Regions from separate parts of the Homo sapiens genome. Here regions 2 and 3 are each linked to region 1. The links are contacts of gene promoters, found by promoter capture Hi-C in blood cells and fetal thymus (Javierre and others, 2016). All regions are on one chromosome and are shown on one strand. The core of a region is centred on a gene start or on the middle of the fragment in contact, and the rest is flanking DNA. Distances in the headings are between cores, read along the strand shown. Region 1 holds the start of GHITM (growth hormone inducible transmembrane protein). Region 2 holds the start of CASC2 (cancer susceptibility 2). Region 3 overlaps PRKG1 (protein kinase cGMP-dependent 1).

Region 1 (3,541 bases), core at 663-3,162:
AAACCCCTCTGTGTCTTTCTACTGGCTTAATTCCAGCCTTTATTGCCTTTTGGTTGAACAACTACAATAAATTCCTAATTGGTCTCCTGGTCCATGGAACCTCTCCCTTCCTACACTGCCACAAGAGCATATATTTCCCAATGATATGACCAGATTCCTCCCCTGCTTCAAAATATTTGACCCCTGTGGAAACAACAATACAAGCCCTTTACTTGAGAAAGGAAAATATGAAATCAGACATTTTTCTTCCAATATGGAGAGAATAAGCTTTAATAGGAATCTTGAAGAAAGCTTGAGTCATTGACTTCAAGATCTTTATTCTGGTACTGTGTTGTAAATCCTTTCTCTTTGCTGATAACAGAAGCTCTAGAAAAAAAGACTATCACTGAAGGAGCCAAACAGAAAACCTATTTGCTAGCTAATAAAATTGGGCATAGATCAAAATAAAAATTAAACTGATCATGCTTGATCTGTTCAGTTTCGTGAGATTTCTCTAGTGTTTTCCTGCCATTTTCAGCGTAAAGAGATAAGAATTGTGTTGCTGCCAGACTCTTTTATTATCCACATAGAAGGCAAGTCTTTATATTTGTCAAGGTTTACATGATTAGGAATCATAAATCACAATTAACTACTGCTTAGGAGATAAAGGTTCATGAATTTTGCATGTTGTTAATCACCTTATCACCCTTTCAGGGTTTTAATCTGCTCTTTCTTCATGGTATTAAGTTATCACATTATATTTTTTCTATGTTCTGTCTCTACCAGAAAGTAAAGCCACAGAGCAAGGACTTTATTTTGTTAAAATAGTGGTAGCACACACGGGTTTAATTCATTTGCTGTTTTTTTGTTTTTGTTTTTTTGGTTTCTTTTTTTTTTGAGACTGAGTCTCCCTCTATCGCCCAGGCTGGAGTGCAGTTGCGGGATCTGGGCTCACTGGAACCTCCGCCTCCTGGGTTCAAGTGATTCTCCTGCCTTAGCTTCCCAAGTAGCTTAGATTACAGGCACCAATCACGCCTGGCAAATTTTTGTATTTTTAGTAGAGACAGGGTTTCCCCACGTTGGCCAGGCTGGTCTCGAACTCCTAACCTCAAGTGATCCACCCGCCGCGGCCTCCCAAAGTACTGGGATTACAGGCTTGAGCCACCACGCCCGGCTGATTCATTTGTATATATTTCTAGAACAGAGCTTGGTACGAAGTTGAGCATTCAGTAAATATCTGTTGAAATAGAGGGAGAGTGAAAAAGAAAGTAACTCTCTCGCGTATTCCACAACTAGCTCTTCACCTATCAAATTACGCGCAATGGAAACATCTTAGTCCTCAGAGCAATCCTGGGTGCAAGGCAGAGGCGGCTGTTATCAGGCCTATTACACAGGTTTAGGGTGAAACTTGAAAATGTGGGCGGGAAAGTCACAAAGCAATGAAAAAACCATCTAGAAAAAATCTTTTCTGGATGTCACCATCTAACATTTGGCATGAGACCCCAGAAACCGGATGACTCGGCTCAGAAGCAGACACATTTGAAAAGATATTTATCTCACGATAAATTAAGGGACAAAAAGGCCTTCAAAAAGGAACGGAATAAACGGAATAATTTTTAACTCTAACATTACTTTCTTTCAATTTTTACATAATTCTTATAGCTGCGGCGAGTGAAACGACTAAAACAAAAGCAAAACAGAGCTCCACTGCCCAAAACAAAGATGGCCGAGACGACTCCCATGCCCACACGCAAAATGGACGCTGACTATGACGTTCCCTGCAACAATCCTCAACTGGCCCCGCCCCACCAATTTGGAACCCCGCCTCCTCAACCCGGAACCCCGCCTCCCCCAGTGTGGCCGCTTTTCCGACAGAGGCCTGCCCGTGATTGGCTGCTCGTACTATTTACGTCCTTTCGATGTTGCGTCATGCAGTGCGCCGGAGGAACTGTGCTCTTTGAGGCCGACGCTAGGGGCCCGGAAGGGAAACTGCGAGGCGAAGGTGACCGGGGACCGAGGTACTGCTCCGGCTGGCCGGCGGGCGCCCGGGATCCCCGGTGGTCCTGACAGCCGCCCTCACGGGACCGCTGGGTGCGGGGGGAAGGGCTGGAAGCAGCGGTGCTGCTGGCTGCGTCAGGGCCGGCCTGCGCGTTGGGGTCGCAGTCCTGTGGGTGACCTGGTGGAGAGGGCGGCGGCACAAGGCCCTGGTCAGGCGGGCAAGGGCTCAGTGTAGCTGTGCTTCTGTCCTCGGGCAACAAGGTGCTGAGTCATCCTTGCGGCGAGGCCGTACAGCCGCTGCGCTGGTAGCGGCACCTGGGGCAGGGGCAGAGGTGTTGTGGGTTGACAGGGAAGTTTGCTGCCGGGTTCTCATCTGAATCTAGCGGGCTGGGTGAACTTTCTCGGGGACCAGGCACCCAAACTCATCAATGCTCACGGAGGCATAAGCCCTTGGATTAGGGTCGGTAGTATTTTCCCCATTTTATAGCAACGACATCTGAGTCTTAGAGATCCACACTCCTCACAAGGTCACTTCTAACCTGTCAGAAGCGGGATTCCCACTCTGGGCTGTTACGCCACATGGAGGTCACTCTGAGCTGGACCTCTTCGGCCCCAACCAGTGGACTGAGTACTGAGGAAGATACAGGACAGCCATAGGTTGAGATGATGTAATGGCACGAAAGTTCCAAAAGCGCTGGGTGTTTTCCCAAAGGCCGGGTGCCGAATTTTAAGACCCTTAATAGTTCAGTTGCAGAGCTCGGAGGACGCTCGGGTATCTTAAAGCAATAGTTCTTAGCTTTTGGAGTGTTCGTTAAAACACACGTTCTTGGTCTTATTCCTAGGGGTAGAATCATTAGGAGCAAAGAAAGACCCAGGAGCCTACATTTTAAGATGCATCCGGGGCACTTTCAAGCAGGTAGTCTAAGGGTCAACGCTGTAGTCTGAACACGGAATCCTTATGTTACAGATGGGGAAATGGGCCCAGAAGTATATCACTTGCCTAGAATTCACTACAAATCATTGGCAGAGATGGGCTGGTAGCCCCAGTTGGTTTACACTCGTCATTTCATTCTGACCTATTGTAGTCACCTCACCTTAGCATTACAGAAACACTGTCTGCTGACTTCTGGTTGACCACCCATCTAGTATAATGTGCCCTGGAGCTAAGATAATCCAGTTTTTAGCATGCTTTTCTTTTGAAGACACCATCGAGGGAGTCTAATGTAAGGGAAACCTGGTTGGTAACTGAGTTTACTTGTTTACTTTGAAAGACTAAATGTCCTTTACGCATTATAGTAGGACATATAGAATAGGTTAACTTAGAATATTTTTATATCTCATGTTGAAGGAAAGTAATATTTGGTATGATTAGCTGAAATTCATATAGTTGGCTTCTTTTAATACCTTTTAGCTTTGTAATGCAGTATAACCTTGAAGAGCTATTCATGTCTTCTTTGGATGACACTATTCCTTTGCCCAAAAGTTATGTAGATTCTTTTAAATTTTCCCACTGGATGCTGGTATAAATCTTAAGCCAAAACTACATTTGTAAAAACCATCACAG
Region 2 (3,541 bases), core at 287-2,786, about 34 Mb after region 1:
CCCATCAAGGCACACTGACCCTGAAAAATGGCTGAGCTAAAATAAAAGCTGTGTTTATAACGCTGAAACGAAATACTGAGTTCTAAATCTGGTGATTTATCTTTTGACAGCTACAAAGTGCGACACATCAACATTACATTGCCAGATTTAATTTCTCATCTTCCATTTCATTGATAATTGTAAGGTTTAAAATCCATAACAATTTATATGAAGTTCTAGTTGGTCAATACTGTGATCCAGTCCTCATACTGAAACAATGTTAACTTACTTAAAATCCACCACAAAATATTCAATTATTTGACAGATGTTTAACAGAAAGAATAAGGGATCATTAATGATTCCATTTAAAAAATATTTCATCACGAGTGCTACTTTTACTTCAGATTCATGCAAATATGGTGCTTAAAACTGGATCATATTTCAATCCAAAAACCAACGCCCGAAGTATACGGATAATTTCCAAGAACAGAAAAACCATAAATAAGATATAAACTCCCCCAAATTCAAAATAAATTACATAACTTACTCTGTTTTCCTTCTTTGTTTGTCCTCAAAGATGTCATTGAGATTGATTGCCACCTGCCCTAAAAATTTATCCAGACCCACCAGGGACCTGTGCATAACTATAAGGAAAAGAATGTATTTCTCTGGACTTCCCTGAATTAGCAATCCAGGTAGCTCGAAAGAGGCCTCCTCCTTCCAAACTGGCTCAAGGGTTTTCTCAGCTACAGAGGTGGAGTACTTTTCCTTGCCCAGCTGAATTATAGTGTATGTGTCATTGGTACCACTTTTGCCTTTTGGCTTCAGATCTTTGGCTTGGAGCACTGTGACCTGCACGTGGGTTGGAAACCACTTTTGGGCTTGCTCGGACAGCATCATCCTGTCCTGTTTCTCTGCCCCCGAGTTCCCTAGCACAGGCAGTGCCCCTCCCGGAGGGAGAGCCTAATTCCTTAATCACTGCATCCTAAGGACACTTAACGGAAACAGGCAGGCTCAGGGCTCCCCGACTTCCCTATGGCTGATGTCAAAACGCCTCGCGGGGGCAGCCCAGGGGCACGGCCGCTCCGGGGGTCCCCTTTCGTCTGGAGAAACACAGAGGCCCACCATCACCTGGCCGCGCCGTGCAGGCCTCTGCGCGGACCCCCGCCCCTGTCTCCACCTTCCCCAGGCCTGCGGGGCACGTGAGGCCTGGCCACACGGACCCGGGCGGAGGGCTGCGGGGGTGAAGGGAGCCCCCGCCCCAATTCTGCACCCCTGGCCTCCCGCCTGCCTCCTTGCGGCCGAGCAGCCTCCGCTGCCTCCGCGCCTCCCGCCCGCCCGGCGTTCGTCCGCAGGCTCGGCCCGGCTCCTCCTCCCGACCCCGGTAATACGAACCGCCGGCGGCTAACGCGGCCTCGCTCCCTCTCGCAAACCTCTCCCTCCTCCTCCTCCCCCTCGCCTCAGCTCCTCCTCTCGGGCGGGAGCGGGTAGCCAGGGGTGGAGTGGGGGAGGGCGGGGAACGCGGCCGCCCCGGCGCCGGCGGGACGTGGGGCGGGCAGCGGGCTGCAGGGCTGCGGGCGCTTGGTTCGGCCTGGCCCGGCCGGCGGCTCCTAACACCGGGCGGGCGGCTGCGGCGGCACTTCCGGGTTGGCCTTCTCCATGTTGGTCTCGGGAACGTGAAGGGGCGGGGCCTCGAGGTCAGGGGTCAGCACCTCCCTGGTTGCCGTGGCGACTGGAGGCGCGCGACGCGGGCGCAATGGCGGGGACCCGGGGCTTGATGCTGCTTGGGCCTGGCCCAGTGGCGGGTCCTAGGGACGTGGGTACCTGCAGAGGCCGGCAGGTGAGCCCTGGGGAGGGCTGGGGACCGCTCGTGAGAGGAGGTCATCAAAGACCCGGAGACGCCCCTAACTAGGGCGTCTTTGAGGGCAGGGGATCTGTGTTCGCTGTGTCCTGGATGCCCAGTGCCTGGCAGGAGCAGGTCCATAAATGGTGTTGGAACGAATCAGGCCTCTTCACTGACCGAAAGGAAACTTTTCTCCAATCTCCTATCCACCCTTCTCTTTTTGAAAAGTCCGTAAATTGACTGAAAATGACATCCCCCACCCAGACGAAGGGCGATAGGGAAGCAAATAGTTTCCACAGGGAGTAGAGATGTAGGGAGGCACTGGGCTGGCATCAGAAGACCTGGTTCCGGCCGCGCCTCTGCCGCTATCAGTGTGTGTGACCTTGGCCGAGTCATTTCACCTCCATGAGCCTCAGTGTTTTCACGAGTAAAAAAGCCAGTTCTACCTCATGTCTAAGACTCCATCACGACTCTATGGGCTCGACGTCAAAAGGACCCCCGTGGGGACTCACACTGTGGTGGACTGTGCAAATCATGTGGAGACCATGCCCCAAACACGGGTTTCGAGTTTCAGGGGATAATACATGTGCCTTTCCTAGCACAATGCGGCACATAAATCTCCTTTTGCCCCTCTATTTCTCAATTGGAAGAGACGCTTATGTACCACCCCATTGCTGTTAATTCTGTTCGTGTCTTACCTTCCCAAGGAAATTCTAAGTTTTGGGACTGCCTTGTCTATCATGCAGTCCCTTCATAGTGGCTAGCATGCAGCAGACAATTTACTGAATTACTTAATGCCTTTTTTCCCTTTACAAGACTAATTTTGAGAGTAAAACAATATGATACATGTAAATGCACGTTTTTTTAACTTAAATGGCCATAAACATGTAAAGTATCGTGTTTATTATTTTCAAGCAAGGTTTAAAACTTCTCATTCAAGGCAGAATTTTTCATCCCTGGGAGACAGTGTATGAAAAGGCCATGTGTGGAAAACAGAACAAAATCATCGTACTGCGAATATAGCATCTGGATCCCAGAGTGCACAGTTGTCAACTTTAAAGAAAAATATTCTTAGGGATTTTTAAACAGTACGTTGGAACAGTCAATGGTGGAATTTCACCAGGATCTCTAAGGAGAAATAATTTGACACCTGAAACTTACAAAAACCAAATAAACATCATGAAATCAAATTTAATTAAGTTTAGAGTTCTTATACATTTTAAAAGTCTTCATGTCTCTATTAAAGGTTGTAATTAAACAATAGAAAATTATAATAGTGGATGTGTATTTCTGAAGAGCTTAAATTGGTAAGCTTTATTAATGATTATAAACTTGTTTACAAATATAATTTCACTCATCTCTGAAATATAGCCATCTCTAGGGTAGAAGTTGGCAGCAGTAGTTCACAGCAACTCAATAACATACTCCAACACAACTCAGAGAATACTCTAAAGGCAAGAGCTGAACAATTGGAATTACTAACCTCTCTTTCTGTAGCACCTAAATTTCTTTTGAGTTTTCCCAACAGCTGGCTAGAGCCAAAATTGTTTAGTTTTACTGGTGAAATCAGAAATTATGACTTAAAATTTTTTAAGCCAGAATAAGAAAATAACATATTTTTGCCCCCGGGGAAAGCAAATAAACAAACAAACCAAATGAGCTAAATAGAATCTGGGATTGCATTATAATAAGGAAATGACTTCCTATAGAATGTTTTCC
Region 3 (3,541 bases), core at 419-2,918, about 32 Mb before region 1:
TAAATGCCAGGTGTGGTGGCTCACACCTCTAATCCCAGCACTTTGGGAGGGCCAAGGCGGGTGGATCATTTGAGGTCAGGAGTTCAAAACCAGCCTGGCCAACATGGTGAAACCCCGTCTCTACTAAAACTACAAAAATCAGCCAGGTATGGTAGCACACGCCTGTAATCACAGCTACTTGAGAGGATGAGGCAGGGAAATCACTTAAACCCAGGAGGCAGAGGTTGCAGTGAGCTGAGATTGTGCCACTGTACTCCAGCCTGGGCAGCAAAGTGAGACACCACCTCAAAAAAAAAAAAAAAAAAAGCTGTTATTTGGTAAATATTTGGGTGCTTTTTAATAGTATTTAATAAGCACCAGGTTTGTTATTTTTAATGATGTTACCCCAAGTGTCACTTATTTTTAAATTCATTTTATTTTGAGACAGAGTCTCATCTGTTGCCCAGGCTGGAGTGTAGTGGCACAATCTCGACTCACTTCAATCTCCACCTCCCAGGTTCAAGTGCTTCTCGTGCCTCAGACTCCCAAGTAGCTGGGATTACTGGGGCCTGCCAACATGCCTGGCTAATTTTTGTATTTTTAGTAGAGATGGGGTTTCACCACATTGGCCAGGCTGGTCTCAAACTCCTGACCTCAAGTGATCTGCCCACCTCAGCCTCCCAAAGTGCTGGGATTACAGGTATAAGCCACCATGCCCGACTCCCAAGTGTCACTTTTGACACAATTCATGCCCTCAAATGACATGTTATATATTGTTGTAGAATAATATCAAGAACAAACATGATAGTTAATATTTTATGAGAAAGGTAATTGGTAATATGAATATTTGTGAAGGTGAATTTTCAACCAAAGGAGTAAACTTTTGTTTCAGGGTGCATAAAAACAAACGAAAATATTTAAAGATCTGATTCAGTTAACATTTGAAATAAATATATATAAGCACATTATATAGTATGCCAATATCATGTAATATCCCTATTAACATTTAATATTAAAATTTATATTTATGGATACTTACAATATATTAATGATGTCCGTAATATGAATTAGTTCTTAACCAGAGCATTCTTGATAAGAGACTGATGAAAAAAGTAAGCTTCAACCAGGAAAGTCCGTCTAGAGATTAGCTAATATAAAGCAGTGAGAGACTGACATTCTTTTGTGAGAAGACTCTCAGATGTAACTGATAATTCAGTTTCTCTGCCACAGTAGGTTGTTGCACATAATTATCCTTAGACCTCATCAGACCTAAGAGAAAGGCCTGACACACCATAGGAAATTATGTTCTGTGTGCTTAGCTAATGTCCCATCACAGCATGGAAAAACAAGAAGCTCTGCAAGCCGTGATTACGTTAACGGTTTTCTTTCTTAAATGTTTTTCTACCATTAAAATTCTGAAAAGTGTAGTTGAAAAGCCAAACATAATCTTACTTAGATAAGCCTACTTTTGACTGGGATTCACATTGGCTTATATCTTATCAAATACTCCCAAATCCTAGGAAGTCAGCAGATATTAAAACATATTTTTGGTATTAATCATCAGTAATATTAGGGCAAGGACTAATGGGCAGGCACTGATTAAAGTTGATCATTTCATAATCCCAAAAAACATGTACTGCCCAAGAGGATAAGCCTTAAAGAAGCATTAGCAAATCACTGTTTCACCCTGTCATCTTCAACTATTATGATGAATGAATTGGTGATTTTATTTTAGTCTACACATCCTAGGGAAAATTCAGGATGTGAGGGGTTATAAACGATGATTGTGTAGAAAAACACATAAAAGATTCTGATTGTGGCAATATTGCTTGCTTTATTCTTTACTATCAAATGAAATAAGGCTCTATGCTTTCTACATCAATATTGGAATGTTCAATGATTCAGAAGTGAGGAGAATCTATTTCCTTAGCTTTCACAGAGTAGAGGTGATTGTTTTTAATAACCTGTTTCTAATTGTTTTTTGAAATGGAAATAGTTGTTATAGCTCATTTGTTCTGTGTTGCATCTAAACCCTTATGAAGGCAGCATATGTGCTCTTAATGGGATTTTTTCCCCCTAATAACTCTAATAAAATATTTTGTCCTGTTCCCATCTGTGAATATGGGAATGAGATAGGCTGTCCCTGTGTTCAGTTTGTGGAAGTGGACGTAAAAAGTGCACTGCAATATAACTAATGTTGTCAGTAATGAAGATAGCTACGAGGTGCTATTGAAATACAGAGGAATTCTCTCTGGGGAACATAAGCTTAATATCTGACTACCGCCAAGATGTTGCTTATACCAACCACAAAATGGCCCATCTTTATAGTTATTTCAACTGTCAAACTATATAGATAATGGCTCTAAGTGAGTTCCATCCATTCCTGCAATTTCATTAGTTCTGCCTTTTTCATTAAAAACAAAAGGTAATCAGGCCCCATGTATATCCAGAATGGAAGACTTTTGTATAATGTATTCATTAAAAATAAACATATCAGATACTAATGTCAGCCTTAATTGTATCTTTATTTTCTGCATGAAACAATGCAGAGATTTGACTAAAGACTAACATTTAATAATTTTCAGTTACAGCCCTTCAGTGAAAGCTTTGAGATAAAGCAACTAGAATCTCAAAATGATCGAGCCAACTCTGTGAATTAGTATTAAGCATAACTATCACATATGTAAACGCGAGTTATCCTCTCCAATATAGGGGAGGCATATAGGAAACATGGGAAAGTAGCAGTATGAACAAGAGTAAAACAGGTAGTAGAAAACAACAGCATAGGGATGAAAACCTTGCAAACAAAGAATTACTAATTTAAAGTGTAAAAATTTTGCAAAGGGAAGATAACTCAATTTCTACATTTTCAGCTCTTTGTATTAAACATTTTTTCATCTGTAACTAGATATTGGTTTTTCTTCTCCATAGTAAGATCACCTGATATTTGATAATTTATGCTTTTATTACTACTTGTTTTATGATACCAACATTTATGTTCACATCCTCAAGGCTTTATTTTCAAGAAAAAATAAAGTCGTAGTAGCACAATGTGATAAGCTCCATCTTCCAACCAATTTTTAATTGTCTCATTGGTATGTATATTAGGACTAAATGGCTGTATTCCATGCAAAAAGTAAAATGAGCAGTAAGTCAAGTGAGTATTCAGGCTATATAAAAACTTCTACCTACCTGGGCCTTGATTATTCCTGGTAAGATGATTAATGATAGAAAAGTAGATTATGAAATAAGAAAACTAAAAGGCATGTTAAATGCTCTTTAAAGGTTTTTAACTCCTGTCTGGTGGAGCAAATGGACACCATCTGTATAAGAAAGCCAGATACCAAGAAACTGAGAGTTTTACTTAGTGAAACCTTCCACTACTTATGAAAAGTCAAATATCATGTATAACTCATCCAGATCAACTAGTCCCTAGACACTGATTTTTGGGAAGGATGTAAGAGAATTACTGACTCAGATTTAGGGTTTAAAGACTATTGAGAAATAGGAAGGTATTGAGAGATTATTGGGTTTCATCAGAGCAGACTTAAGTAGCCTGGTT

What was found. Contacts are between HindIII fragments. The CHiCAGO score rates a contact against its expected background, and 5 or more counts as called.
Region 2: a contact is called between the fragment with the promoter of CASC2 here and the fragment with the promoter of GHITM in region 1, in 1 of 17 cell types (non-activated CD4 T cells). The highest score is 7.0, in non-activated CD4 T cells.
Region 3: a contact is called between a fragment that was not itself captured here and the fragment with the promoter of GHITM in region 1, in 1 of 17 cell types (activated CD4 T cells). The highest score is 5.0, in activated CD4 T cells.

What each region holds. Positions count from the first base shown.
Region 1 is chr10:84,137,597-84,141,137 of GRCh38, forward strand. GHITM (growth hormone inducible transmembrane protein) reads left to right here and starts at 1,913. Exons shown (of 9, transcript NM_014394.3): 1 at 1,913-1,997. RefSeq lists enhancers at 1,281-1,850, 1,851-2,420 and a silencer at 1,994-2,193. The HindIII fragment of the contact is 9,095 bases long and covers 290-3,541 here.
Region 2 is chr10:118,045,285-118,048,825 of GRCh38, forward strand. It overlaps CASC2 (cancer susceptibility 2), which reads left to right and starts at 1,537. Exons shown (of 4, transcript NR_026940.1): 1 at 1,537-1,819. RAB11FIP2 (RAB11 family interacting protein 2) reads right to left here and starts at 1,657. Exons shown (of 5, transcript NM_014904.3): 1 at 527-1,657. The coding sequence starts at 879. RefSeq lists a silencer at 1,095-1,584. The HindIII fragment of the contact is 9,012 bases long and covers 1-3,132 here.
Region 3 is chr10:51,693,001-51,696,541 of GRCh38, forward strand. All of the region lies in intron 3 of PRKG1 (protein kinase cGMP-dependent 1), which reads left to right. It overlaps CSTF2T (cleavage stimulation factor subunit 2 tau variant), which reads right to left. Exons shown (of 1, transcript NM_015235.3): 1 at 2,486-3,541. Among named protein-coding and RNA genes, the nearest start is that of CSTF2T, 4.8 kb to the right of the region's middle. The HindIII fragment of the contact is 1,148 bases long and covers 1,095-2,242 here.